Regions from separate parts of the Homo sapiens genome. Here all the other regions are linked to region 4. Evidence: promoter capture Hi-C in 16 types of primary human blood cells and fetal thymus (Javierre and others, 2016). All regions are on one chromosome and are shown on one strand. The core of a region is centred on a gene start or on the middle of the fragment in contact, and the rest is flanking DNA. Distances in the headings are between cores, read along the strand shown. Region 1 overlaps PIP5K1B (phosphatidylinositol-4-phosphate 5-kinase type 1 beta). Region 2 overlaps PIP5K1B (phosphatidylinositol-4-phosphate 5-kinase type 1 beta). Region 3 overlaps PIP5K1B (phosphatidylinositol-4-phosphate 5-kinase type 1 beta). Region 4 holds the start of TMEM252 (transmembrane protein 252).

Evidence for each region. Contacts are between HindIII fragments. The CHiCAGO score rates a contact against its expected background, and 5 or more counts as called.
Region 1: a contact is called between a fragment that was not itself captured here and the fragment with the promoter of TMEM252 in region 4, in 2 of 17 cell types (neutrophils and total B cells). The highest score is 7.1, in neutrophils.
Region 2: a contact is called between a fragment that was not itself captured here and the fragment with the promoter of TMEM252 in region 4, in 3 of 17 cell types (neutrophils, naive B cells and total B cells). The highest score is 8.3, in neutrophils.
Region 3: a contact is called between a fragment that was not itself captured here and the fragment with the promoter of TMEM252 in region 4, in 3 of 17 cell types (neutrophils, naive B cells and endothelial precursors). The highest score is 6.8, in neutrophils.

Annotation. Positions count from the first base shown.
Region 1 is chr9:68,796,060-68,803,614 of GRCh38, reverse strand. The region is part of intron 2 of PIP5K1B (phosphatidylinositol-4-phosphate 5-kinase type 1 beta); the gene reads right to left. Among named protein-coding and RNA genes, the nearest start is that of PABIR1, 20 kb to the right of the region's middle. The HindIII fragment of the contact is 8,045 bases long and covers 1-5,407 here.
Region 2 is chr9:68,849,656-68,857,125 of GRCh38, reverse strand. All of the region lies in intron 4 of PIP5K1B (phosphatidylinositol-4-phosphate 5-kinase type 1 beta), which reads right to left. Among named protein-coding and RNA genes, the nearest start is that of PABIR1, 73 kb to the right of the region's middle. The HindIII fragment of the contact is 8,244 bases long and covers 1,861-7,470 here.
Region 3 is chr9:68,822,722-68,830,156 of GRCh38, reverse strand. All of the region lies in intron 4 of PIP5K1B (phosphatidylinositol-4-phosphate 5-kinase type 1 beta), which reads right to left. Among named protein-coding and RNA genes, the nearest start is that of PABIR1, 46 kb to the right of the region's middle. RefSeq lists an enhancer at 4,141-4,642. The HindIII fragment of the contact is 3,268 bases long and covers 4,552-7,435 here.
Region 4 is chr9:68,536,687-68,543,525 of GRCh38, reverse strand. It overlaps TMEM252 (transmembrane protein 252), which reads left to right and starts at 2,643. Exons shown (of 2, transcript NM_153237.2): 1 at 2,643-2,989; 2 at 6,033-6,839. The coding sequence starts at 2,712. The coding sequence ends at 6,267. TMEM252-DT (TMEM252 divergent transcript) reads right to left here and starts at 2,501. Exons shown (of 5, transcript NR_187592.1): 1 at 2,296-2,501; 2 at 884-1,148. The HindIII fragment of the contact is 3,743 bases long and covers 1-3,118 here.

The sequences.
Region 1 (7,555 bases), core at 136-2,635, 260 kb before region 4:
GTCTGCCACTTGGCATTTGCTCTTTGCCCTTTCTTCCACGGATGATGAACTTGGGAGACAGCATGAGCAGGGCCTCCATATATGCCTGGTTTTCCCTTCCTGGTATGCCTGGCTTTCCTCCACTTCTCTGAACACTTTTTCTTGGGCTCTCTGGCAGGCTTCCACCTTTTTTGACTGTTTCTTAAATGTTCCTGTTCCTCATGGTCTTCCGAATTCTTTTCTTCTCACTGCTTCTGAATAATCTCTTCCATCACCAATGGGTTTAACTGCAACCTACTTGTGATGACTCCCAAATAACTCTTTGAGCCCAGACTTTCTTGAGCTCAAGATTTATATTCCCAGCTGCTTTTAGGGTTTCTATAGTATCTCGCAGGCACTATAAATTTAAAATGCTTCAATTGCAGTTTATCGTATCCCATCCAGCTCAAAGAATGCCACCATTAGCACCCAGTTGTCCAAGCCTGAAATCAAGGGGCCATCCCAATTCCTCCTCAATACATCCTCCCCACAACCTATCAATTAAGCTCTTTCCAATCAATCTCCTTGATGTTCCTTGACTCTGAGTCTTTCTCTGCATTTTCCCTTATACAAACTTAATTGAGATCTCATCATTTCTAACACAGATTGCTGCCCTAGCCTCCTAATTAGTCTGCCTTGTTGGTGAACAACATTGCTAAAGGGACTTTTCTATATGCAAATCTGTCTAACCACTCTCCTTCTTTAAAATCCTGCAAGGGCTTCCCACTGCTTCAGGGCAAACCTCAGAGGTTTTGGCACAGCGTATGACCTCTCACGACTCTCATATCTCCTCCCAGCTCACCCCAACACAACTGCAGCCACATGGGATGACTGTCAGCTCTCAGAATGCGTGGTTCTCTTTGCATCTTACCTTTGCACACACTTCAATGCCTGGCACATCCCCTTCACTCTCAGGCTGAGTGCTCTTTGTCCTCCAAGATGCAGCTCAGGCATGACTTCCTCGTATGAATCCTCTCCTACCCCTCCTGAGGCAAAGGGCAGCGTTTCTTCTCTGTACTCACGTGCTCTGGGACTAACTCTATTGTGACACTTACTGACTATATTGTAATCCTCAGTTTAAATTTCTTCTCTTTCTAGTACACTATTGGCCCCTTGAGGGCAATAACCTCTGTCTATCCATCCATCCATCCATCCATCCATCCATTTTCTATCCATCACAGTGCCTGGCACATGAATAGACACAAAAATGGAAAGTTTAATGCATATATGCGTATTTCTGTTGTTCTTAGATAAGCTACCTTGAGTTCAGAAAGGATGTCTCATTTTTTAAGTCCTTACACATTAAGTAGATGCTTCATAAATGTTTTCTTCCTCCTTTTAGCACTGGATAATCAAGGAATGTTCAAGCATCAAACTGACATGAAAAACTAAGGATGGCTATCAATTTAGTATTTCGAATACTTCCATAAGATATCTTTTCTTGCTATTCCAGGTTCATTCCATAAAGTTTCAGTTTCTTTGAATAGTTTCTCTTTTGGAATAACTTTAAAAATCATTATAAATGCAACTCATATCTATTTTAGAAATATGAGAAAGAGACAGAAAATCACAAAGAAAATAAAAGGAGCCATCAATCTTCTCATCCAGAGATGCCCATTATTTATCTGGTGGGGTATCTTTTTCTAAGCTGTTTTCTGTGATGGTAACACACTGACTTCACTCTCTATCGCCTGTTTCCAGACTGGCACAAGGGCCGAAATGCGCTGCTAATATGCTGGGGCAAACCCCCATCATTCATTCCATCAGAACTCAACCTAACAGTCAAAAGACAAAACAAGGAGAGTCCGTGTGGTGGCCACTCTAAATGATGAAGGCTTCTTAACCTGAGATTGGGCTTGTTTTGGAGCATGCTGTTCTTTGGCTTCAGACCATACTCAGGTGTGTCTTCCGGACTTTCCCTTATCTCTTTGATGAGATTCCGTCCAGCCTGACCAAATGTACTTCTTTCAAGTGGTATATTATATTCACAGGAGTAACTCTGTAATCTTATTATTAAACTCTGTCAATCCCTGTGGTTTTGAAAGTACGAAAAAAATCCCAAATCTTTAGTCTTGGAATATATTTCAAATCTCTCCCACCTGGCAGGGTGCCTCAACACCCACCACTGTGCGGATGTCTCAGTATTACATGTACCCTCTTTTCTCAGCATCAAGGAACAGCATAAACCTATACTTCTTAAATTCAGCCCAACTGAAAGAAATCCAGGAAGTATTTAGCATTGTTGTGATTATTAGCAATCCAATATGAAAAAAAAAATGTGCCCTTTTCCTAGTGTTAATACCGCTAAGTATCCCTGGAATTCTAAGTTCTCTCATGCCCGGGCTTGTTATTTTCCCTTGGATAGCCCTCCTTTGAGAATTTTCAGCAGAATATAAAGGACTATATCCTGGCTCAAGCAAAGCACCCTCTCCATCCCCTCCTCACACACACAAATTAAATTTGCCTTATCAGAAGGAAGGCAGGGGCATCTGGGAACAGAGCAATGGGTTAAAATATCTATGGACCAATCCACCTGTGTGGTAGTAGCAGGTGCTGACTCAGCGAGGCCTGAGAGCCCTAGGAATGGACATGGAAGCCTGCAACTTGGATCGACACTTTTCCTATCTGGGATTTCTATATGAGGGGGAGAAGAGATGCAAGCACAGGGAGACAACTGCTCAAAGTATTCCAACACTTGGAGTGCTTACAGCTCAAGTTCCTCAAGAACTTAACAGTCATGGAGAATTTGGAGCAAGGGTACCCAAATATGACCTTGGGAAGCCTAGGACACCTTTGTTTGAATGACAAAAAGGCAACCTTTCTGATTTAGCAAATGCCTATGCCCTTGCAGAAAAATGAGAAAAAGATACCACCTCTGGGCAGACTTAACCCTGCAAAGAAAAAGGCCCCTTTTCAACAGCAGATACAGAGCGTGGCAGCTGAGAACAGGTTGGAAATCAGCCTCCATCTACCCTTCAGTGGAGCCCCATTGTGCACTGCACTAACTATAGAATCACACATAAAGGCCCGACATCCTCTTGACATAGATGCTATCCATGGATGACTGACTGGGATGGGTCTTCAAGGCCTTCTTACATCAGTAAGAAGGAAATGGTGAGGTCTGTTGAACCCAAGGTACTTCAAGCAACCCATGTTTCTTCCCCATGCCACAGAAAACAAGGAAAACTGGATTACTCATCCATTTAACAAACACCTGTGCATGTGCAGGCCCTGTCTAGATGCTGGATGAAAAGCATGGTACAAACCTCAAGGACTATTGCATTCGAAAGGCAAGGTCTACCCCCAACATTTGCAGGGCCTAAGCAAGAGAAAAAATGGTAGCCACATACCACATGCTGTGTGTGAGGCTTCTCCTCACTCACTGGCCCAAACCGGGCACCTGCTGCCCACAGGTATCTCCACCAGCCCCTTCACCATCACTATTTTCAGTTTCTCTAAGGAACCTGATATGGGAAGGCCAGGCTCATGTATGTTTTCTTTGGAAAAATATCTATTTAAGTCCTTTGCCTATTTTTCAATCAGGCTCCTTATTTTTTCTTTTGCTATTGGGTTGTAGGGGTTCCCTATATATTTTGAATATTAACCCCTTTTCAGATGTATAGTTTGTTAATATTTTCTCTCATTCCATGAGTTGCCTTTTCATTCTGTTGATCATTTCCTTTGCTCTTGAGTTTGATATTGTCCTAGTCCTATCTGTCCACTTTTGCTCTTGTTGCCTGTGATTTTGGTGTCATATCCAGGAAATTGCTGCCAAAACCAATGTCATGAAGCCTTTCCCCTAGCTTTTCTCCTAGGAGTTTCACAGTTTCAGGTATTATTTTTAAGTCATTCATCCATCTTGAGTTGGTTTTGCGTCTGATATAAAAGTCCAGTTTCATTCTTTCACATATGGATATCCAGTTTTCCCAACACCCTTTGTTGAAGGTACTATCTTTCCCTATTGTGTATTCTTAGCACTCCCGTTGAAGATCAATTGATTGTATATGTATGGGTTCATTTCTGGGGCCTCTATTCTATTTTATTGGCCTATATGTCTATTTTTATGAGAGTGCCATACTCTTTTGTTTACTGTGGCTTGTAATATATTTTGAAGTTAGGAAGTGTGATGCCTTCAACTTTGCTCTTCTTTCTCAAGATTGCTTTGGCTATTTGGGCTCCTTTGTGGTTCCATATGAATTTAATTTTTTTCTATTTCTATAAAACAATACCATTGGGATTTTGATAAGAAGTGCAACTAAGAGGACTTCATTCTTTTGCACAACTGTTGTGTACCCTAAAATTAGTCACTGATGAACAGAAGGTATGTACTACAGATAGAGAGTTTCAGTATTTTCAAGTATACTCCAAATGCTTTTTAAAATTACAGCCAACATATTGATGGAAGGTGTGCTTATCTCAAATATAATTTTAGCTGCATCCAGATTTCCCTAGCTTTGAACTTATATAGCCAACTGACAGCTCCCTTTAGAATCCTCAAAAACATATTAGAGATAGGTCCTAAACAAAACTCAAACACCTCTTTATTTCTGCCCCTGCAAACTTTCCCATCTCATTCAATGTCACTTCATTCCCATTTTTACTCAAGTCAGTAAACTTCATTTACAAAAATCAGTCATTCTTGATTTCTCTCTCTTTCTCCTTAGTATGCCCTCTCCCAAATCTTGCTGATTTCTCAAAACCATCTTTTGTTCTCCATCCTAATTGCTACACCTCAGCCCAGTCACCAATATCTCTTGCCTAGACTAATATAACATCCTCCTACTTGATCTTCCTGCTCCCATTCTCCACAAGGCAATAATGGTCTTAAAAAAGAAATCAGTTCAGGTTAGGCCTTGTGTAAAACCCTTTAATGTCTTCTTATGGCATTAGAATAAAATCTAGACTTCTGATCTTGCCCTATAAGACCCCGTGTGGTCTGTTGCCTGCCTAGCTCTCCATGCTTATCTGATGCTATGCTTCCTCTTGCTCACCAGCCTCCTTTCAATTCCCCAAGTGCATGCACATGCCTCCCCCTTGCCCATGATGATTCTCCCTGGCCACTCTACCCAAAGCAGGTGCTTCTCTGTGGTTCAAGTTCTCAGCCCATTGTTTATTTCCTTCCTAACATTTATTGTAATTGGCAATGATTTTACTAACTACTAACTACCTTTTATTGTTTTTGTCTGTTTCCTCTCACTATAATGTAAACTCCATGAAGCCAGCAGCTTAACATGTCTATTAGGAACTAGAGTGAAAGTTAATTCAGTTCAATGACTGGTCCACAGTGTCTACAGTAAGAGCTCAAGAAATATTTACCAAGTGAACAATCTTACAACCATCTTAAAAATTCACCCCAATTATTGCTCTCCAGACTTCTATCAATTAAGCTTCTAAAGCATAAACAAAAATTTCTTTCTTATAAGACAAACTCAAAACTTTCATTATACTTTGAGGAAGTTTAATTCAAATCTGGGCTCCAACAGATTATTTTCTTCAAATATTCACATTGGCTATCAAGTGGAACTCCACGGGGAATGAAAAAAAACCACCATGGATGCAAATTCAATTATTAAAAAAAAGGCAGTAGCATAACAGTACTCATGCCTTATTTAATGTGGAAAATATTTAAATAAGATCATTATGGCTCTCTTACAGCGTATCTATTTAGTCTAAACCTCTGGTTCCTTTCCACTATAAATCTACTTTGTTTGAAATCTCAGAATGTATAGCCCAAGGCTTTTCCAATGCTAAAACAAAACAAAACAAAACAAAACAAAACAAAACGGGCACAGTGATCTTTATCACATTTTGGAGTATTAATTACTAACAGCACAAAAAATTTAGCAGATAATTTGAACTATATATTCTTTATCTATTCTTTCTTCCAATCTCTTTGTGAATCTGTAGCCATAATTTCTAAGCAATTAAATCCAAGACAGGAAAATAGTATGTCATTGAGACAAGAAGTAGTTACAACAACTCCTTAATAAGCCATGTCCATTTCATCTGATCTTTCAGGGTCAAATGGTTTAGTAATTCCCTAAAAAGGAATAAACAATGAAGATTTTAAAAAACTGAGAAATATGGAAAAATAAAAACAATTAGCAAACACTACCACCATCACCAACAAAAAATTCAACCCAATACTTACTCCAAATGTTTTAAATCAACATTGCAATTCTTGTTTGCTGGAGAATCCTAGAATATACTCTGTTCTTTGCACATATTGAATGACACTCATCATGTACCCCTTGTCTCCCTGGGGAATGCCTATCCACTTATTAACCTGCTAAAGAGTTGCTTCCTCTGTAAAAACCTTTGCATTTCCTTCCTCTGGGTTCCTGTAGCATCTTGGACATATGTCTTTTACACAGCAACAAATAACAACAAAGCATCGTAGACATTAAACATATATGTGTGTACCACGCCAAGAGCAACTTAAGGACTTGTCCACTCGTCTTTGTAAGCCCAGGCCCTAGGACAGTGCCAGGTACATAGTAAGTATTCATTCACCACATTTATTGAAAAAATGAATAATTAACTCATCTCTTTTACTCCTTTTCCTAAGATCTATATATGGTCACCATATTTTATAACCCTAAAACTGACAACCATGATGTCATAAAGGGTTTTGGTGTCATTTTTAGGTGCATAAAATAGAAATATGCTAGTTTTGATGTCCAAATACTAGAATTTCTAAGATGTTTCACTGGGCTACTGGAGGGAATATTTGATAACTAACCTAGAAAACATGGGATCTCAAGTTGCCATAGCTATGAAAGACGGAAACGGTGGTGACCTTAAATCTGTGGGATAGATATCTAACTCTGGCTTCTTTCTCATCTCCCCACTTCCTATGCTCCAGCCTTTCTTTCATTCAAATGACACAATGGTAAGGATCACTGACTTCCTGGCAACCTCACTAGCCATGAATTACGGGTTGCTCTGGTTGAGGAGAAGACAACCTCGGAGCATCATTTCCTGATGACATTATCAAAACTCTCTAGTTTGGATCAAATGAGGAAAATGCTGTCTTAGATTCATGAAAAAATCTGAAATGCAGATTATGTTCAGAAAACTACACTTTTCTTCTTTTTTCAGTCACACACAGGAGCTCCAAACATGACCATCAAATAAATAACAAAACCGGTTCAGAAAGGAATGTTTTAAGAATGAACAAAGTTGAATTAGGTATTTTATATTGGCAAGTCTAAGAAATGTTTGTGGTCTTTAAATTTTAAAAGTTTGTTCAGATGTACATCAGAACATTGTAATTGAGGAAAAAATTGAAAACAAACTAAAGAGTAACAGTGGATTAACTGTGGTACATCCACAGAAAAAAATAACATGCAACTATCAAAAAAATGCAACTATCAAAAAAATGCAGAAGCATATTTAAAACATTCACTGTATATTACATGGGGAATAAAAGCTGTTTATGGAGCTGAATATACAGCAGGATGCTATCACCGTATGAAATCACATATACATATTTAGACATAGAAAAAGCCTGGAACAATATACATGAAGTGCAAAC
Region 2 (7,470 bases), core at 4,733-7,232, 310 kb before region 4:
CTAGAGTCCACCCGCATTCCTTGTGGCCTCTTCCTCCATCTTCAAAGCCAGCAGAATTGTTAAATCTCTGTCTCCCTCTGACCTCTGCTTCTCTCATCACATCTTCTGTGACTCTGATCTTCTCACTTCGCTTTATATGGACCCATCTGGATAATCTAAGATAATCTCCCTATCTCAAAATCTTTAACTTAATCACACCTGCCAAGTGTGTGAAGTTATTGGCAATGTCTTCTTAATAGGTTCCAGGGATTAGGACATAGATCTCTTTGGGGTCCCATTATTCTGTGGATCACACTCCTCTACTTCAGGATTGACCCTGGCATTTTTTCCCGTGTTGCCCCCAGCAGAGAGAAGAGGTTCCCTCAGAACCCCATTCAGTCAGAGGCTGTTCATTCTGCCAGCAAAGATCTGAGCACTTAGTATGAGCCAGGCATTATTTTAGGCATTGTGCGAAGCATAAGCCGAAAAAGAGACGTGGTTCTTGCTCTCATGGGAGTTTCTAGTCTAGTGGGGGAAAGAGACATTAAACAGACAAAGATACACATGCATAAAGACAAATGAAGTCAGTGACAGAAAGAACAGCGTGAAATAATTGAGGTCAGAAGGGCGGAGACCCACTCAAGAATGATGGAGTCTCAGAGGTCTCTCTGAGGAATGATCTGTAGGCTGAGACCTGAAAAGTGAGAATGGGCCAGTCAACAAGTCGTGTCAACAAAGACTGGCTGTGTCCTTTGTACAAACTGGGGACATAAAGGTGACCTGAACAGAGTCTTGCCCTTAAGGAATTGACATTTTGGATTACTATGTGTGGTGAGGAAAGACAAAGCACATTAGGAAATTAGGGGAGTTGATTTCCAGGGATAGAGAAGCAGTAAGGTTCGGGGACCTGAAAGCAAATCATATGAGTTCATTAGTCGGGTAACAGGGAAAGTGCCAGAACTGGAGGCTGGAAAGACTGGACAGACTGAGATCTGGGTCTTATAGGCCATCCTAATGGTTTGATGTGTTTCAATGAGGGAACAGCATTCTTATTTGAAAAGGTTCACTCTGGCTGCTACTTAGCGTAGCAGGAATTGATTCCCTGCTAGAGCCTCTGAAGGAACGCAGCCTTGTCAACACCTTGATTTTAGAACTTTTGACCTCCAGAACTATAAGATAATAAGTTTGCATTGATTTAAGCCACTGAGCTTGTAGTAATTTGTTATAGAAGCAATAGAAAATTAATACAGGAAAGAACTTGAGAAATGATTTGAAGAACTCAGAAGCAAGAGGTTGTCCCACTTCCTCTCAGAGAGGAGGAGGTTTGCCTACCCACAAACTGTATCATTTCCATAGTCCTACAACCAGTTTCATTGGAGGGATTATAGGCAGGAAAGTGATTGGGGGCAGTTGTAGTGGTTCATATAGAGATACTGATGGCTTAGAGAAGGGTGATGAACGAGAGGATGGGCAGAGGAGGTGGATTTGAGATATATTGGAGGGAGGGAGACAGAATTTGCTGCAAACTAGAAATAAGGGACAGAAAAGTACCAGCAATGCCTCCTGGCATTTTCCTTCAGCAGTTGAGAGGACTGAAGTCACTTTACCAAGCTGAGGAAACTGAAGATGGTACCTATTTTGGAGCAGAGATTCAGAGTTCCATTTGAGATGCTAATGAGACATCCAACTGGAGATGCTAACATACAAGTCTGGAGCTTGGGATAGAGGTTAGAGAGAATATTTCATTTTGAGAGTTGTTAGCATATAAATGATATTGAAAACCAAGGGGTTGAATGAGAAAACCAAGAGAGAGAGGGGAGTATCCAAGGAGAGTCCTAAACCACAACAACATTTAGAAAATAGATGGAAGGAGGAAAAGCTTTGGAGGAGACGTAGGAGTGACTAACACAGTAGAAGAAAATCAGGGAAATATGGCTTCACTGAAACCAAGAAAAGAGAGTTTGAAGAAAGGGGTGACAACCGTCTCCACAAGTAGCTCTTTCATCTGATAATATAAATACTACAACTTGATGGAATATCTAAAGCTATGAGTCAAATTCTCTATATTTTTCTCATTCATATTGTTAATTCATATATAAACCTAAATCTGGATCTAGCATATTTGACAAAATTATTTGATGGACTCGTCAAATTATGCCATCACTTAAATCATATTTTAGAAGTGATCCTTAACTTAGAAAAATAAGATACTATGTTAAGTTTAAAAAGCAGGACACAATACAGATCATAAAATTTAAACAAGAAAAACCAAGTACACGTGTACATATCCACGGAGGAAAATAAGACAGGAAGGAAATATACCAAAATGTACAATTATTTCTGGATAGCGGGATATTAGGTGATTTTTGCTTTCAAGTTTTGTACTTCCCAAGTTTTCTAAATTTTATGTTTTATATATTGGGATGGAAATGTCCTCCAATGAAGGTATTGCTACTATGTTTTAAAATACATTTTGAGGCATGACAAAGGCATGTTTAGGAGTTGCTCATCTTTTTAGCTTTTTCTTTTAGGTCAAGGCCTTAATGCAACAAACCTATGTAATGATTGTGCTTTTATAAAATGTAATCATAACAAGTTTATTTTTGTCTCCCACTGTTCCTCTAAATGTATTCTGGGGTTAGATTTTTCTTCTGCCCCAGCATGAAATATACGGCAGGTCTATGACCCTTCTGGTGGCTTCTGGAATAAAAGGTCCTGTCCAGGTATGGTGGCTTGCACCTGTAATTCCAGCATTTTGAGAGGCCAGGGCAGGAGGATCACCTGGGCCTAGGAGTATGAGATCAGCCTGGGCCGCATAGTAAGACCTTTTCTCTACAAAAAATCAAAAAATTGGTCAGGCATGGTGGCGGCACCTGTAGTCCCAGTTACTCAGGAGGCTGAGGCAGGAGGATTGCTTGAGCCTAGGAGGTAAAGGTTGTAGCGAGCTGTGATTGTGCCACTGCATTTCAGCTTGGATGACAGAATGAAACCCTGTCTCAAAAAAAAAAAAAAAAAAAAAGTTTTCTGTTTATTCCCAGTCATAGATCTGTAAAAATGGTCTCATCTAGACATCTGGTATGTACAGTCCAGCTTAATAATAATAATAATAATAATAATAAAAACTTATATATGCTTTTGGTAGCCATCTCTCTCTTCCCCCAGCTTGCCTGGCACAAGCCGGCCTCCAGCAGTGGGAGGGGCTTGGGAGCCTCTCTTCTCTTTTCTGACTGGTTGCTAGAGGGAGGAGAAAAGAGGTAGGAAAGGTGTTTTTTGAAGAGTACAGTTGTAAAATGTACCAGGAACTGAAAAGGCTGTCCAGGTATGTATCTTTTTTTCTTGTGAGGTGCTCTCATGGGGTCTGCAGTTCTCCCCCGCAAATGGCTATTGCATTCCTCTGCCTGGTAGTTTCCTGTTGTTTTTCCAGGTCTTCACATAGACAGGACTGGGGTGACCCCACATTAGCTCTCTCTAGAGCTCAGTGTCCTCCAATGGTCACATATCATTTGCCTGGAACACCCACCCTCCCCAAGGAGCCTTTTTTGGTTTTGCCGTCATCAGAGCAGCTGACCAAAACTTCTCTTCTGAAAACTTTCTGATTTTTCAGAAAAATACTATAGTCTATTGCATCCTCCAGGCTCCAGGGAGCACACAGCACACTCTTCAGTGGTCTCACAGAAGCCCCCTTCTCTAGGCTTGAGATGGTGGGCAGACCCTCTCCCAAGCCTCTCCCTTATGTGGGTTACTCATGACATATCAACAACTCTTTCCAAATTTCCTCTTCCATATCTCACAGTGGGCCAGCCAGGCCCTTTCATAGAGTGGGGTGATCATTCAACTGGTCTTAGACCACCTCCTTCCCCAAGTTCTACATGGCAGGCTGGCACCTGAACTTGGAATATGATTATGCTTCCATCCCTTCAGCTTGTATTGTGTGGGACTGATTCACAGGTCCCGCTGATCACATGGGGTTTGGGCCAGCTGCATCAATGGATTGCTCACTGTGTTCCATTCCACCTGCCATGTGACTGCCAGACTCATCATTCCAAGGCTCTCTTTCTGTTTTTCCTTTTAAAACCACCTCCCAGCATAGAAGCCTCCACTAATTTTTAACCATCTGTAGAAATGAATCCAAATTCTTTGCTTGGCCTTCAAAACTTTCTACAATTGAGTTCCTGTTAATGCTAAATGCTGTAATAAATCAATCCTCAAATACCAAGTCCTATAAAAAAAAACACACCCCTAAAATTCAATGTCTTGATTCAAGAGAAGTTTATTTTTTGATAGGACCTAGTCCACAGTGAGTGTCTCTGAATGATAATCCACTTGCCTTTGTCAGGTGATTCAGAGAGCCTGGCTCCTGCATCCCTGTAGCTCTAGTAGCCCCTAGGATCGTAAAATCCCCCCAGTCCAGCTGGCTGATAGGAGAAGTGAGAGAATATCCACTTCTTCCTACCTTTGCCAGGAAGTGACAGTGCAGGATATCTACCCCAGGCCTGTCCCTCAACCCTCCTTCACCCTGCTCTGTGCCCTGGGTTACCATCAGTAAGGCCACATCAAAGGGCTCCCTCTGGCTTCTAGTTGGGTTTGGCCAATGGGACACCATGGCAGAAGACTGGACGGAGGTTTGAGAGTGAGGTCAAAGTGTTTACTTCCATCCCTCCCTCCTTAAGGGTTTGACTCGGTCTGGTTGTGTCCTTCTAAAGGTTACAGCTCCTCTCTGTGGATCTTTCCAGATGATTCCTACTCTGGGATCTAGAAATAGTGCCATTCTCTTACCTTTTTATGGCTTGGGGGGCGGTGTGGGGGAGGCGGGTAACAAGGTACATTTTGCCTCAAGACACTGAACTACCCCTTATGGTTTCCCTGCATTTCTCCCACATCTTTGCAAACAGAGTCTTTCTTTTTTTCTTTTTTAAAATTTTACTTTGAGTTCTAGGATACATGTACAGAACATGCAGGTTTGTTACATAGGTATACATGTGCCATGGTGGTTTGCTACACCTATCAACCTGTCATCTAGGTTTTAAGCCCTGCATGCATTTGGTATTTGTCCTAATGCTCTCCCTCCCCTTGCCCCTCACCTGCCGATAGGCCCCGGTGTGTGATGTTCCCCTCCCTGTGTCCATGTGTTCTCATAAAAAGAGTCCCTCTTAAATTCCTTCCAAATTATCCGATTTAAGTGTGTCATCCTTTAACTGCCCAGGTCCTACAGACAATGACTCATTCATAGCACACCAGTAAGGATAAGCCACACGGCCTGGCTCAGATGCAAGGAGGGCCGGCTCTGCAGCTGCTTTCCAGACCCAGCTGTGCTTTGGAAGAGGGGGCACAAACTCTGGTGGACCAGTTACTGTTTTGGCCACAAGCCAGAGATCCTCTTGCCTCTATGCAAATCCACCACTTTAGCCAAACTGTCCCACTTAAACTTGCCTTGTGATTTCTGGTCTCTGCATCCACTGATCTCTGGGCTTTCCATGCTGTCCTTTTCCATTCTCTTTTCAGTATCCTACCCACTCTTCCAGGTCCAGCTTTACCAATCATGCCTCTACACAGCCTCTGTTCATTACAGGAGCTAAAACCGGTTACTCCCGTCTCCCAGTATGAATCATTTCATACGTGACTTTTGGGGTATTCTGTTATTTTCATGATTGGCAACGACATTTCTGATATAATTTCTGCAGCATCTGCATTTTCAAAAATAAGAATACTGGAGTTCCATTAAATGATGGCCTTCCCTAGGCTGGCACGAACACTCCATGTGGTGAATTTGCCTTATAACAAGGTTATTCTGACACACTAGGCACTAAACAACCTTGGAAGAAGCCCAACACAGATCCACTTTATATTTAACTTTCCCTTTTTATCAAGCAGCCTTTTAACAAGATCCCAGTATATCCATCTGTTTGATAGAAGATTTGCTTCTCAACATTTAATAGGAGAGGCAGAATAAAGAAAAAGTGTTTCATGGTTTCTTTGAAATGATCTCCACCTTAATTTGATTGGCAGCAAAGCATGTTCCCTCATTGGAAAGGAAGAGCATGTTAAGTAAACACTCCTCATTAACAGAAAAATACTGTACTCTTAAAGTATTCATAATACAGCAGCATCAAATTATGGACACTTAATTGCCCTAAAAAGAGACAGGCCATCAACTGCAGATGAAATTCTTGATTTAGGATAGAGCTGTTATATTTGCTGTATATATTTGCTGTTATATTAGTCTTTCAGAAATATTACACTTTAAACTGAGATATTCATTATAAATGTAACACAGTATAATATCCTTAATACTATTCTTACACACTAGGGAAGAATATTTCATTTGTCTGTGTATTCAAATAAAAATTGTTATTTATTTGATATAAATATCAATTTAGATTCAATAGATTAAAATAAGACAGGATTGACTTTTCATCCTAGAATCAACCAAAATAAAATTTGACACAATCTTAGCATGTTTGATTTCCTGGTAGAGGACTTGTTATTTGAAAGGTTATATATTAGTTCAGTGCTAAGCACTGTTTTGGGGGAAATAACACAATGCTTATAGCGGATGTTACTGGTTGTCTGCAGCATCTATTCTCTTCTTACTTAGCAGTTGTTCTTCAAGAGGCTTGACTTTACCCTCAGGGACATCTGGCTGTGTCTGGAGACAATTTGGGTTGTCACACCTGGGCAGTGCTCCTAGCACTGATTGGACAGAGGCCAGGGATGTGCTAAACATCCTACAATGCACAGAACAGCCCCCCTCAACAAACAATTATCTAGCCCAAATGTCAATAGTGCTGAGGTTCGGAAACCTTGTGATATAGTAATGGATTTCAACTGGGTATTTTGCCTGGTTCTCTTTTAGGTAGGTATCATCACATTACTATTTTCTGGCTATTGAGCTGGGACAGGAAATGATGTGTCCGACTCCTAGGTCACGTCCTCACCAGGAAGGGGTGTGCTGTGTACAGATGTGATGGACAGAGATGAAGTAGGCTTCTTTAATCGCTTTTGTTAGCTATACATTGAGAATGGTAGAAAAACAAGATAGAAACCTAGGCCCCTGAATACCCTGCAGAGGCAAGTAAATGACCTCTGCACTTCATGCGTGTGAGAAATAAACTTCAACTTAGCTTAAGCCATGGTCATTCTGGTTCTTGTTTTGATCTATATTCCAAGCGCATATACCCTATGGACCTATAACCAAATGCTTTTTACCTGAAAAACAATATAGGCTCAAAAATATATCAGACTGAAAGATAAATATCCATAAAGATACCATTGCTCAATTTAGAAAGGTAAATTGTAGCCCATGCTCATTGAGAAAAAGTTAAAAAAAAACTCTTAACTACAGAAAGTAAAACACCAATGTGCCCTTCTCACACTTATTCTTGAGGGTTAACTACTGTCAACTGTTTAGTGTGTGTTTGGGGCTTTTTTCTCTACACACTGAAAAATACATGTCTGTATACACGCATTACAGATAAAAATGAGGCTGGGCGT
Region 3 (7,435 bases), core at 4,936-7,435, 280 kb before region 4:
AACAGCAGTTTACTATTTTTTTTTTTGAGATGGGGTCTTGCTCTGTTGCCTAGGCTTCAGCACAGCGGCACCCGTTTACTAGTAAGAGCACATCTTTCTCTCTGATTTTAAACACCTGTTGCTGTTGGGACGCATACAGCATCATGCCCCAGTACTGTCAGCTCACCTCCCATGCCCAGGCTTGACTGCAGCTACCCCCAGGAGACTAAGTAACCCTTCTCCCCGGGAATCCAGTGCTCCGTCCCCATAGAACTAATCTGGAAATCAGAGGCTCAGGGACTGCATTCTTGCTCATCAAAACAGTGACTTCACTCATTAGTATGCTACTTTTCCCAGTATTTGCTCAAGTCTGTTAAACTGTTTGATCCTCACAGCACTATAAGCCAGCTTGGGTAGATATTAATTAATTACATTTTATCAATGAGAAAAATTAAGGTTCACAACAACTAGGAAAAATGCCTACAGTTATCAACCAGTATCTGGAAGAGCTGGACTCACATCCGCCCTCCTCTTAAAAAGGGTAGTTTGATTTGAACAAGGCTTCTCAGCCTTGGCACTAACAACGTTTAGATAATTCTTTGTTTTGGGGGTCCATCCTCTGCATCATAAGACGCAGCATCCTTGACCTCTATCTCCTAGAAGCCAGTAGCGCCAGCCCTCACTTTGTAACAACTAAAAATATGTCCAGATATTGCCAAATCTTCCTGGGGGGTGGAGGCAGAATTGCTGGTTGAGAACCAGCAGGTTAGGGTATTTTGGATTAAGGTGGATTAGGAATCACACTTAGAATACCAAAGGGTCATTCATCCTAGAGACCAGCATAGCTGCTATTCATGACAACTGCTGCTTAGCACAAACGAGTTTGCTTGTTTTATGGAAGTGGTGGCTTTCCAGAATCTGAAGGAAAAGAAGAATGGTCAGGACAGAGAACACACTCCAGCCCCTCTTCCCTCCAAAATCCTGAAACGTTATTTGTTCAATTTTTGAACTGGTATTACCTTCACATAGTTCAAAATTAAATATGCATAGAAAGATGTATTATTTACTTATTTTTTGAGCCAGAGTCTTGCTCTGTCGCCCAGGCTGGAGTGCAGTGGCGTGATCTCGGCTCACTGCAACCTCTGCCTTCCAGGCTCAAGTGATTCTCCTGTGTCAGCCTCCCAAGCAGCTGGGATCACAGGCTTGCACCACCGTGCCCAGCAAATTTTTGTATTTTTAGTAGAGATGGGGTTTCACCATGTTGGCCAGGCTGGTCTCCAACTTCTGACCTCAGGTGATCCACCCATCTCGGCCTCCCGAAGTGCTGGGATTACAGGCATAATCCACCGTGCCCAGCCATAGAGCCACCGAGCCACCATGCTCGGCCATAGAAAGGTTTACACAGAGAAGTTTCCCACCAACTAAGGACCCTACTACCCGGTTCTCCCTGGAGACAGACAGTGTTACCAGCTGTCAGAAACATTTTATAAAAGACCCTGTATTTAAAGAAATACTTCCTTTTAGATCAAAGTGTCTCTGAGCTATTATCTTACTCATGGTGAAAAAGCAATAAAAGGCATCTTTCCTTGGAATGTGGTCACGGTCAGGTACTATTTCCTCCTTCCTCACCGCTGCCTGCCTCCACTGATAGGAAACTGTCTCAGACACTGGAATGAAGCAACAACCAAGGTCTTCAAAGATAAAACAAAGTGAAAAAAACTGGGCATTTGGGTCAAGGATCCTGTAGGTGTCCTGGTCTGGTCAGTTTCCCAATGGAGCTTTCTGAATGCTGTGAGCACGTGTGCCCGTCACAGTGAAAACCAGCTAAAAAGACTCTGCACACTGTAGGCGAGGCCTCGGTGCCACAGGCAGGTGGCCTCTGACCCCACGGCAGCCTGCGGTCATCAAAACCAGAATCTCCCAGTGGAGGCCTATTGTGGGCAGGCCCAGAAAGGCAGGAGAAACAGAAGAGGAAGGGGTGAGGGGCCTAGAACGACAACCTCAGGGTGAAGAGGTGAGACAAGAAGAAAGGCAAATGGCAGTGCACGTTTCCCATGACAGTCAAGGCCCTGGTGTTGGGAAACACTGACCCAGTCCAACGGACAAATGACAACATGGGACATCATGTGACTGGAGCTTCTAATCATCTTCCTAACAAAGAACTGCAAGGTAACCTGGCATATGTCACTGAACCACCCTGACATCTGTTTGTTTTGGAGAGGTGGGGCTGGGTCATTTCTTCACATATAAAACAGACAAAACTTGAATGTCTAGCATCAGTATTTGACTTGCATTGAGACCATCCTCTTTCAAGTAAACTCGTGCCCTGCGCCTCCTGCTTCCTTTTAGGTCTCTTGCCTTTTTAAACAACAAACAAACAAAATCCCAAAATAACACAATACTCTTTCCCAAACTTCCCTAGTTCCACCAATGGCAGAAAACTTCTGGTAGTCGCACTGATTGGAAATGTAATTTTCTTTTCAAAAATATTCCCCACATCTTTTCCTACTCAACTTTGCACCCAACTTTGTTGCTCAACTAACACAAAAGCCTTCCCGTGTCATCTCCCTCAACCCTGTACAACTTGTGCTCTGCCACTGGCTTTGCACAGGCCTTTCATTTGTCACTAGCCCCTACAACAATGTTACAGTACATCACCGCCTGAAAACTGCACTCCCCAGCATGGCAGTCATCAGCCACGTGTGCTTATTTAAGTTTAAATTTAACTAAAATTAAGATTAAAAATTACAGTTCTCAGACACACTGGCCACATTTCAAATGCCCTATAGCCACACATAGCTTGTGGCTACCGCATTGGTGCAAATTATAGAACATTTCCATCATTGCGGGAAGTTCCGTTGAACAACACTGGCCTAGAACATAAAATCCAAACACCTCAAACCAGCACCCAAGGGTAGCTGTCATTTAGAGCCAGCCCATACTTCCAAAACTGCCTACTACTTTCCCCAGACACCACCACTTAGCTTTGTCCAGGCCAGCCTCTCCTGTAATGCCAACAAATCATGCTCCTCCCTGTTTCTGTGCCTGTGCTCATTGGACTCCCTGACATCAAGACAAACACGTAGGTAAATCAGAATGCACAGTCACTTAAAAAGTGGAATTTTTGGCCGGGCCCAGTGGCTCACACCTGTAATCCCAGCACTCTGGGAGGCCGAGGTGGGTCGATTGCCTGAGCTCAGGAGTTCGAGATCAGTCTGGGCAACATGGTGAAACCCCATCTCAACTAAAATACAAAAAATTAGCCAGGCGTGGCGGCATGCACCTGTAGTCCCAGCTACTCGGGAGGCTGAGGCAGGAGAATCGCTTGAACCCGGGAGGCAGAGGTTGCAGTGAGCCAAGATTGTGCCACTGCACTCCAGCCTGGGCGATAGAGTGAGACTCCATCTCAAAAAAATAAAAATAAAAGAGAAATACCACTTGTCTTGGCACTTACTCAACACCGATTTGGGTCAAGATTTAATTTTTTCATGTGGGTCCCTCTTTTTTCTCCCAAATAAGTTGTAAGGTCAGGGGAGGCAGAGACAAGTTCTTACACTTCTTTTGCATCCTCCTTTTTTCTTCTCACTTTTTTACACCAACAGGGAGGTCAGAGGTTGTAAACTGGCCACTGCCTACGGGACAGATAGGGCCTGCAGGCAAACTGTTTTGCCCAGAGTGTATTTTTAAAAACATTTGAATTAGTTGCTGTTATTTAAAAATGGCAGATTTCATATCAAAATCTTCATCTCTCTTTTCTTGAAAAACATCAGAGTATCTGGCAACCCTGGGCGAGCATTCATTCATAGCTCTGTTGGCTAGAGCTGACTGCCTGCTGCCCCTTTTAAGGAAGGCGTGGGTTCTGTTTACCATGGTCCCCTCGTTTTCTCACTCCCTTCTTTGCTGCCTGGCCCCAGTAGGCTTCTGCATTTACAACTCTTGCGGAAAGCACTCAATAAATTAACTGATAATGGAAATACTCCACTCTGTAAATATAGCCAGGCAGCCTTTAATGCCTGTCTTAATGGGCAACTTGTTTGTTTTATGCAGCTAAAATCAAACTTCTTATTTTAGCCATTAGCTGAAGACATTATTAACCTCACGGACCAATGTTAGCTGTTCTTCCCGGGCTTGCCAAGAACTGAGAATGGATTCAGGAAATGGTCAACTGCAAGACAAAAGGCAGCCAGCCTCAATAATCACATGCAAATAGCTGAGACGCAAAGTGTAAAGTTGTCCCATGAACACTGAGTGTTCCCTAATAACACGTGGAAATCATAGCACTCATGACGCTGAATGTTACTGGCAGCTGCCCAGTAAATCTGGGGCTCCATACAGAAAGCCTAAACCTGCTGCTTAATTCTAACAACATTGGTTTCTTCCCTTTTGAACTCCTCATTATAGACTACTGTGTTCTAAAACTGTTTTCATGTCTTGCCTCTCCCACTCCACTGTGAGCTACTTATAAACTCCTGTGGTATATTTCTCACTCCTAGCATAAAGGACCAGGGGCCTTAACCTGGGATCCATGGACTGGCTTCAGTCAATGCAAAAACACAATGGGTCATCAAAGCTTCTTAGTAAATCTGTGCATACCTTATGATCAGGGCTTCAGGACTGGGAAAGAAATTTAAGGTATTTGTAAAGGGAATAAGATGTATGGTGGCCTTGACAACACTTGTGTAGTCTGTTTGCTATCATTTACAATTTTTTTGTCATTTGCATTTGCAAAGCACTGCTTTTATGCTTTCATTAAGGTCATGGGTGAACATGGTAAGCTACCCAGGGCCAACTCATGCATCATGCTGGTGGAAACCGAGTGAACAGGGAGCAAAATTGCCAGTTTTCGAGACCATCAGTCCAACCAGATACAAACACAATAAACATAATATTTAACCCATACTTATCCACCTTGTCTGAAAGGAGACTAGCGAATCTTTTAGACACCTTTAAATCAAGACTCATTAAATTTGAACATACTCTTTATGAGTAATTTAATGACTCTCTCAAAATAGGAAATGCAGTTAGTTTGAAATAAACTACATCTTTATGAATTTCTCCAGGTTTGTAAAAGATATGTTTCTTCTCTAAATATGTATAAACCATATGTTTAATAATAATGCTCAAATTATACTGGGGAATAATGTCTCACTTATAATCTGGTTTCCAGAATGTACTCTTCCTCATTTTTGAAAATAAGAATAATATTTGCTTATGTCCTGTTTTCTGACAATTTTCCCATTCTGAAATTCATTTAAAGCTCACATTCAGAGGTTTTCCTATTCTAGCTTTAAGTTCTTTCATCTGGGAAATGGTTTATCTGGACCTGGAGATAAACACATTTGCAATAGCTAACTCCTAAGTCCACCATGAACACCTTCTCTAGTTTGAAGATCAGAGAACTAAACCGAATAATTCAGCTGAGCTTTTACCTGCCAGTAAAACAACACTCTCTCTAAGCGATTCCTTCTTCTTGCTATTCATATCAATACCATATTTATTAAGGGCTGAAGTTCTAAGTGCTGTGCTGGTCTTCTTGGTGCTTTTTAAGAGAGGCTACGTACATCTCCTTCCATTGCTTATACTTTTTAAAACCAGAAATCATTAATAAGATCCTGATATTATTACACATAAAAAATTGTTCATTAAAAAAAATTTCTGGTCCCCTTAGGTTTTCTGTGTCTTTCCTTATTTCTCCTACCATAGAATTTGATTTTTAGTTTTTACAACCTAAAAAACATTGCTGAGTTAAATATCCTACTGGAGACATTAATCATAGAATTACCTATACTAATTATTGAAAACCTGCTTGACTAAATAAATTCTTGGGCAGGGTACACTTAGCAAACTCTGAGATGTCATGGTCACATTTTTTCTATAACTTTTGCAGCGACAAAGGATCTCCTGTGAGTCAGAATTTGGTCAAGAATTTCAGTGCATCTTGATGCTGATTGAGAATACCACCTGAAACTGATCTGAAGTAATAACAGGCTAGCAACGTAATCATCTCTGTGTTGGTCCATGCTTGAATGAATGTACACGGAATCTTGGGTAAACGAGACAGGATTTGGTTTTTCACTTGTGTCTAAAAATAAATAATAGTGTATTGTTGCCTCTGGCCCAATGTACAAATTTTATAAAATATACTGCGGCACTTCTGAGCTCTTGAATCTTTACCCAACTCTTTTCCAACCACACCATCACTTTGAATGACAACCTCCCAGTTTGTATTTCAAGGTTTGGCTGAGTGGAAAAATCAGATAAAGAAGATATGCCAGGAAAAAGGGCACATTCTCCCATATGAAAATGGAATAGAAAATACATCATGCTAGTTCCATGACCTGAATATGTGGTCAGAGCCCATAGCTCATGTACTTTATGACTAAACGTCTTGCAGGCTGTCCATCAAAGTATAAAAGGAAAAATTAAGAAATAATAAACCTTCAATACACAAACCTCCTACTCTTAAGAGGGCAAAATAGCAAGAACTTTGAAAAGCTAAAATGTATAGTCAATTTATAATCAGGAGTAGAGGTGCTTGGGAACATATTTTACCCAGTAACGTGTTTGAACATTAGCTTGGTAGCTGGGAGTCGAGAATTTATCAAAGACTGGTAAGTTAAGATACATTAGGAAGTCTGGAAAAAGACTTTTTGTGAAATGGGCTGAAGACATAAAATCTGAGCGGCTTAGAAAAGGTGGGGAAGAGGAGCATCTCACATTTTAAAAGTTTTAAAATACAAAGGTAGGAAATGTTTTAAATGTTGGTGGAAAGTAGTGAGTCCATTAAAGGATTCATATATTATACACAGAACACTGCATGCCCTCAGGAGCCTTCTTCTTAGGAATAAGAAGGGTCTTCAAACAACTCTCTTCACTCAATATTCTATATTATGGTGAATTGACCCCCAAAGATTCCCATGCTCTAATCCTTGGGACCTGTGAATATGTCACCTTCTAAGGCAAAAATGAATTCAAGTTGCAGAGGAAATTAACGTTGCTAATCAGCTGACCTTTTAGATAAAGAATATTAATTTTTATTAATATTTTCCCATATTTCTGTGAGCCTAGGAGGGCTCAATGCAATCACACAGGCCCTTTAAAGTGTCAGAGTGATACAGCCTGGGAAAGACGCCACCGGCCATTGCTGGCTTTGAAGATGGCAGGGAGCCATGACACAGGGCACGCAGGGAGCCTCTAGAAGCCGGAAAAGACAAGGAAGTGGACTCTCCCCTGGAGTGTCCAGGAAGGAATACAGCTCTGCAAACACATGGATCTCAGCCCAGGGAGACCCATGTCAGGCTTCTGACTCACTGAACTATAAGATAATGCATGTATGTTGTCTAAGCCACTAAATTTGCAGTAATTAGTTATAGCAGCAACTGGAAACTAAGATAGTAACTTACAACTGCTTGGGAGAAGGAAAGGCCTTTGATAATATTCACGTGCCAAACAGCAA
Region 4 (6,839 bases), core at 1,394-3,893:
TTAATTTCACATAAATTTTATGTAAAGGGACTGAGTCCTTCCATCCCCCTGCCACTTCCTGGATTTTGCTCTTCCATACCTAATTTCTCACCAAAAACATACCACCACCACCATCACAACAACAACACTGCTGTGGAATGACAGGAGCCTCCTCAAAGGGCACTGGAGGGGAAGGAACTGTCTGACAAACTATAAGGCAATGGTTCTAGTGTACTTTATTGGCATGGAGGAGGAAAAAGTATAGAGAAACTTATTTACTCATGTGTTGATGTGATCACAAGAATGAGGCCTGACCTGTCATAATCCCCAGTCTAATTTCTGCCTCCATTTTTGTCTAAAACAGAGAAGCCCAACTGTCTGATGGGCAGTTCCGATTGAGAGTACTCTTCCTCCATCACCTGATTCTTAACATTATCCTGGGGCTTTACCATCTACCTGTTCCTGGGACCCAACTCCTAGTGCAGACCTTTCAGCTGGGGGTCCTGGGTCTTCCACAGATTTTTGGAATTGTAACAGCAATGATAATAACAATATTGGTGATGGTGATTATAGATAACCTTCACAGGGCACTCTCTGTGCCAGGTACTATGATAAATACTTAACATTGATTGTCTCTTCTGATTTTCAAAGTTCTAAGAGAATTTTTTTAGTTATCTACTGCTATCTAAAAAATGGCCACAAAACTTAGCATATTTTTAAAATATACTTTTTTTAAACTTTTGACCTCTTTTATTTGTTAAAATAGTGACATCCATAAACATGAAATGATTTGATCATAATGCATTCATTGATTATGGCTCTTGCCATCTTGTGGCATCCAGGACCCTGGCTGAAACGTTTTATCTCACAGTTTCTGTGGGTCAGGAATCCGAGTATGACTTACCTGGGTCCTCTACTTCAGGGTCACTGAGTCAAGGTGATGCTTGGGAGCAGAGTCATCTCAAGGCTCAGTGGGATGAGGATTTGATTGCAAGCTCACGTGGTCATTGACAGGATGCAGTTCCTCATGGGCTGACGGACTAAGGGCCTCAGTTCTTCAGTGACTGTTGGCCAGAACCTGCCCTCAATTCCTTGCCTCATGGGCCTCTCCAATATGGCAGCTTCCTTCTTCAAAGGGCGTAAGCCAAGAGGACAATAGAGAGAGTCTGCTAGAAAGATGAAAACCACAATCTTGTGTAGCCTCCACGGAAGTAACTTCCGATCACCGTTACCATATTCTATTGATTAGAATGAAGTCACTAGGTCCAGCCTACACTCAGGGGAGAGGATTACTTACACAAGGACATGAATATCAGGAGGTGGGATCCTTAGGGATCATCTTAGAAATATTCCATCTCACAGTTTGGGGAAGGAGGGAATAAGAGCTGTTTTAAGATTACAAAGACAATATCAAGACTAGAAGATCAAGGTAGTTCAAGGTCGAAATTGAAGCTAAGAAAGGTAAAGGCTAAGGGTTGGAATGGAGAAGTGCCTTATATAGTTTTTGATCCATAGTGTGTACCTCTCTAATATCCGTGTCTCCCAGCCCTAACATGAAGGTAGAGCTAAGGAGATGGTGAGTGTGAGACTAAAGGTTATATGAGGGATTATTAGGGCACGCCACAAAAAACTGCTGCTCTCATTGGGAAAGTAAATGGAAAATAATGGTAATGGAGTAGTGGAGTGGAACAGCAGCAAAGAGGAACTGAAGATAAGCTATCCTGAGTAAAAGCAACCCAGGGTTCCTATGGGAAGGAGACTTTTGGCAGAGACATGCCACATTATCAAATAAAAAAGGGCAGAGCCAGGGCATAAAGCACGTCTGAAATAAGCTATCCACAATCAAAGACAGTCAAGCTAAAGAAAACAAATTCCAGCCAGGAAACAGAAGGCTGGTTCTGGAAAGATTTTTTGAGGCAATGCTACATAGAGCAGAGGTGTGGAGGAGAGGACAGGGAACATTTTTAGCAGCATCCTCTAAAACGAATTCTATTTCATATGTACTTTATGAAAGGGGGAAAGATTGCAGGAATTACAGGCCCAAAATCCCCCCAAATTCCCGAGGCTCTGTCTATTATAGTCCTTTTCTCCAGCACTCTCCTTTCCCTCCCACTCAGGCTCTTTCGATCTTGTCAACAGAGCAGGAACCACGAAGTTCACACTCTGAACTTCTGTCTTGGAATTATGCCAGTATCATAGTGTGGGGGCAATAAGTGGGGATTCATTGAGGGAGGCAAGACAAACATGTTAACAGCCTTGAAGAAATGCCTTTTTAGTACAGAAAAAGGGAGAAGGAATCAGGAAGGGATTTCTTACCAAACCTCAAAGAAGATCGTTCTTTAAAGAGTGCTAACTTCTCCAGCTTTTAGTGGGGAATTGCCCTCCATGGGGATTAAGAGACCAGCGCCTTTTAATCAAAGGAGGGCTGTACGTTCAAATAACTGGGAACAGCTGAGTGTCCCACCCAACTCTGAAGAACAAAACAGCTACACGAAGCCACTCCTGCCTGCAGTATACAATGCTATGTTTTTTGGCTAATTCTCCAAGGATATTACACTTACTTTCAATGGTTAATGAATAGCTTCTAAGTGCCTGTTTCATTTAGTTGTCCAAAGGCCAGTGGGTCCCAGAGCATATAAAGCTGCAAGCTGGCTAATGAGCTCATTCTCTTGGAGCAAGCAGGGAAGCAGAGGAGCAGCAGGGTCAGGGTGCTGGGTTCCTAAGGTGCAAGGATGCAGAACAGAACTGGCCTCATTCTCTGTGCTCTTGCCCTCCTGATGGGTTTCCTGATGGTCTGCCTGGGGGCCTTCTTCATTTCCTGGGGCTCCATATTCGACTGTCAGGGGAGCCTGATTGCGGCCTATTTGCTTCTGCCTCTGGGGTTTGTGATCCTTCTGAGTGGAATTTTCTGGAGCAACTATCGCCAGGTGACTGAAAGCAAAGGAGTGTTGAGGCACATGCTCCGACAACACCTTGCTCATGGGGCCCTGCCCGTGGCCACAGTAGACAGGTACGTGCTGACAGGCAGAGGGACCAAGAAGGGCTGAGATGGGCTGAGTTGTGTAAGATCTGAGTAATTTCTGATCCTACTATGGAGCGACTTACATGTCCCATGGGCTGTCTGTCTAGAACCAAAGCTTTATTGTCAGGGAATTACTCTGGGGTTGTTATTAGGAAGAGTGGCGCCATCTTTGGGGAAAACCATGACGCAGGGGCAACTCATCTCAGAGAAACCCTACCACCACCCCCAGTGAAAACCCACCTAAGCCAATTTAGAAACCCAGGCTCTTTTGTTATATCATGGCAGCTGTCATTAATTAGTGGCAGGTGATGGTTAGTTACTTCCCATAACCTGGCTATGAGGTTCTAAGGAAAGCAAGTCCCAGACCAAATTCTGCCACACAACAAATGAAGAAGCAGGCATAAAATGAGTCCTGGAATCTCTGTGAGCTCAGAAAAGTCCCAGTTTACTGTCCTTTTAGGTGTTGTGATCTCACCTTGCATAAAACATTCCTTCAGGGGAAGGTGATAATATTCTAGAGGCAAGATTCATTCTTTCTCGCCATCTCATACATTAGGATAGTTATCATCAAAAAACAAAACCAAACAGCTAGTGTTGGTGAGGATGTCAATAAATTGGAACGCTGTGCATTGCTGGTGGGAATGTTAAAATGGTGCAACCACTGTGGAAAACAGTGTGGAGACTCCTCTATACATTAAATATTGAATTACTGTTTGATCTGGCAATTCTACATTCTGAGTTTATACACAAAGGAACTGAAAGCAGGGATTCAAATGGATGTTTGTACACCAATGCTTGTAGCAACATTTATTCATAATAGCCCAAATGTCCATCAACAGGTGAGTAGATAAACAAAATGTGGTATATACATGCAATGGAATATTAGCCTTAAAAAGGAAGGAAATCCTGGCACATGCCACCACTTGGATGAAGTTGAAAACATTATGCTAAGTGAAACAAGTCAGTTACAAAGGGCAAATATTGTATAATTCCACTTACATGAGTACTTAGCGTAGTCAAATTCACAGACACAGAAAGTAGAACAGTGGTCCCAGGGGCTGGTGGAAGGAGAGACTGGGGACCTATTGTTTAATGAGTAGAGAGTTTTAAGGTGATGGTTGTAGAGCAATATGAGTGTATTTAGTGCCACTGAGCTATACACTTAAAAACAGTAAATTTTATGTCATATATATTTTACCACAAGAAAAAAAAGATTCAGTTAATCTTATAGTCAGTATCAGGCAACAAGAAACCTCCTAATTCTTGGCTAGCCACAGGACCATTTAGGGATAACACCCTAGGCATCATTCTCAAGATACAGGCTACAAGACTATAATTATTTTGCCCTCTTCGTGCAAGAGTAGAAAGTATCTAAAATATTTTAGCTACTCCATGTATCTTGAATATAAGTAATCTTACCCATGAGCATCCACTTTTGGCATCCTTTATGCTAATTAATAAGATAATAATTATGAAAACCAAAACTTATTTCCAATGTTATACTAACCAGCAGAGTTTCTGGGTTTGATTAAAAATTAAGAGAAATGAAGTGATTGTAGAAGATGCCTCTAGAGTGATGATTTCTTTTTGTATAAATGTTAGAGGACTACCTCTAGAGTGTGAATTTCTGATAAATGTAACTGATTGCCTTTAGGATATAGCTTAAATTGACTAACACTGCATAATATTACAGTATACTGAAATGTTTGAAAGTAAATTATGGACATCGTAACACCCCCATTTTACTGCCTCTTCTCGCTGCATGTAATAAGATGCTTATCCCACGCAGAATGGCTGGCAAGTCAGCCTGGGAAGTCACATTTCTCCAAAGCATTTGCACTCAAAATGGATACCCAGGTTGAGATATCAAAGCAAATGGGTCTCCGATGATGGAATTCAGGGGACTGGGAATATGGATGGCAGTTGAAGGAGGGTGGGGTTGGGAGAGGTAGCTGGGATTTGGGGCAGGCAGCAGTCATCCTGGAACCTTTCACATCACTCCAGGGAACATCTCACCTTTCTGTGTAAAATGCCTTTACACATGTGCCCCGTGACTCAGCCTTGGCTATTCTGAGCGAAGGCTGAGATTTATGCCTTATAGTAGACAGCTTCTTCAGCTACTGGCTTTGGGCCTGGTAACATTTGGAATGGAGTTGTGGCTACAAATGGCAGTCCCTGTTCTGTTGTGGTTACACACCATAAACACTCCCTGTAGGCACTGGAAGGATCACTCTATAAATACACAACTCAGCCAAGCTCACCGGTCTCTCTTCCTCCCCTCTCCCCTTCCCCCAAATTCATTCATGATGGAGAAGCCAGGAGGATTTAGCAATTAGAAATGCCAGGCAAGATGACCAATGAGTACATCAGCCCCCGAATGAATGGCTGCTTTAGCCTACTGGCATAGAAAGGGCTACAACTGAAATCTGTGTAAAGTTGTCAGTTGATATCATTTGAGAAATGAATATGTTTGTATATTTTCTTTGAAACTAGCTACTGAGTCTCGAAAGGGTGTTAGGATAGAGACATGGCATCTGGTATAGTTCAGGGATCAGCACAGAGTTGGTTTTCATTCATTATTTTGTTGGCTGTGATGATCAGAGAAAGTGAGTGCAATTGAGGGGATGATGCCATGCGAGAAAGGGAGCAAGGATGTGGATGGACTAAGTACTCGGTAGAGAGAAGTTCCCTATCCAAAGCCCCCACCTCCTCTAATGTTGACAAGGATCTCACACTGAATGGCCCTGTTTTCATGAGTGAATGAGCAATAGAGAAGGAATAGCTTGGCATAACCCACTGGGAAAAAAATGTGACTAGAGGCAGGCATCCTGTGGCTGATAAAAAGGTTCTTTTGGAAGAGCAGCACATTTTTAAAAAACTGGTGATGCCAGGAAGAAGTACATCTGTTTCAAAAATCCATGTTTCTTAACAGTTTAGCTTCGCACAATTTGAGCTGAGAGAGGCAGCCGTCTGCCTCTTTGGCATTAATGCCTAAATAACGCACGCATGTTTATGCTGTTTTGTCCCCTAGGCCAGACTTTTACCCTCCAGCTTATGAAGAGAGCCTTGAGGTGGAAAAGCAGAGCTGTCCTGCAGAGAGAGAGGCCTCTGGCATTCCTCCACCTCTATATACAGAGACGGGCCTGGAATTCCAGGATGGAAATGACTCCCACCCAGAGGCCCCACCATCTTATAGAGAGTCCATAGCCGGCCTGGTGGTGACAGCAATCTCAGAGGACGCCCAGAGGCGAGGCCAAGAGTGCTGAGGCAGAGAAAGCTCTCCAGCACTCATGATGCCACCACTGTGGGGAGCAGCTACTGATAATAAAGGCAAACGAGGGACTGTGGGAGGAAAAGCCACACCAGGGACCCCACAAGAGAGCTTGGGGAGGGGATGACAGCCCTGAATTCCAGACATAACTGGCCATGCCAGGGCAGGGCAGGCCAGGGGCCCTGGAAGGGTGTGGCCAACACCAAGCAGACATTTCAGAGCATTCACACTAATCTTAACCCCGGCTGGCCTTGGGTCCCCAAAGGTGTCACTCTGAGAGCTCTGCTTACAGAGATTCTTTCTGCTGTCACTCAATTTCCCTCCCATCACCTCAACTCCAGCCAGGGAGGAATAGATGCTGGTTGTCAGGACAGCCACATGCCTTCCTGTTCTATATCACCTAGTAATCTCAAAGCGAAGGTTTGTTGTTTAATTTATTGATTGTTCAGCCTTTTGTTTTGTTAGCTTGTTTCCTAGTTACCTCCAGCTGACCATACTACCAGAGTGAGGCAGTACTTCACATCCTGGGAGATATGCCCTCGGAACCCATGAATGTTATTTTGTATT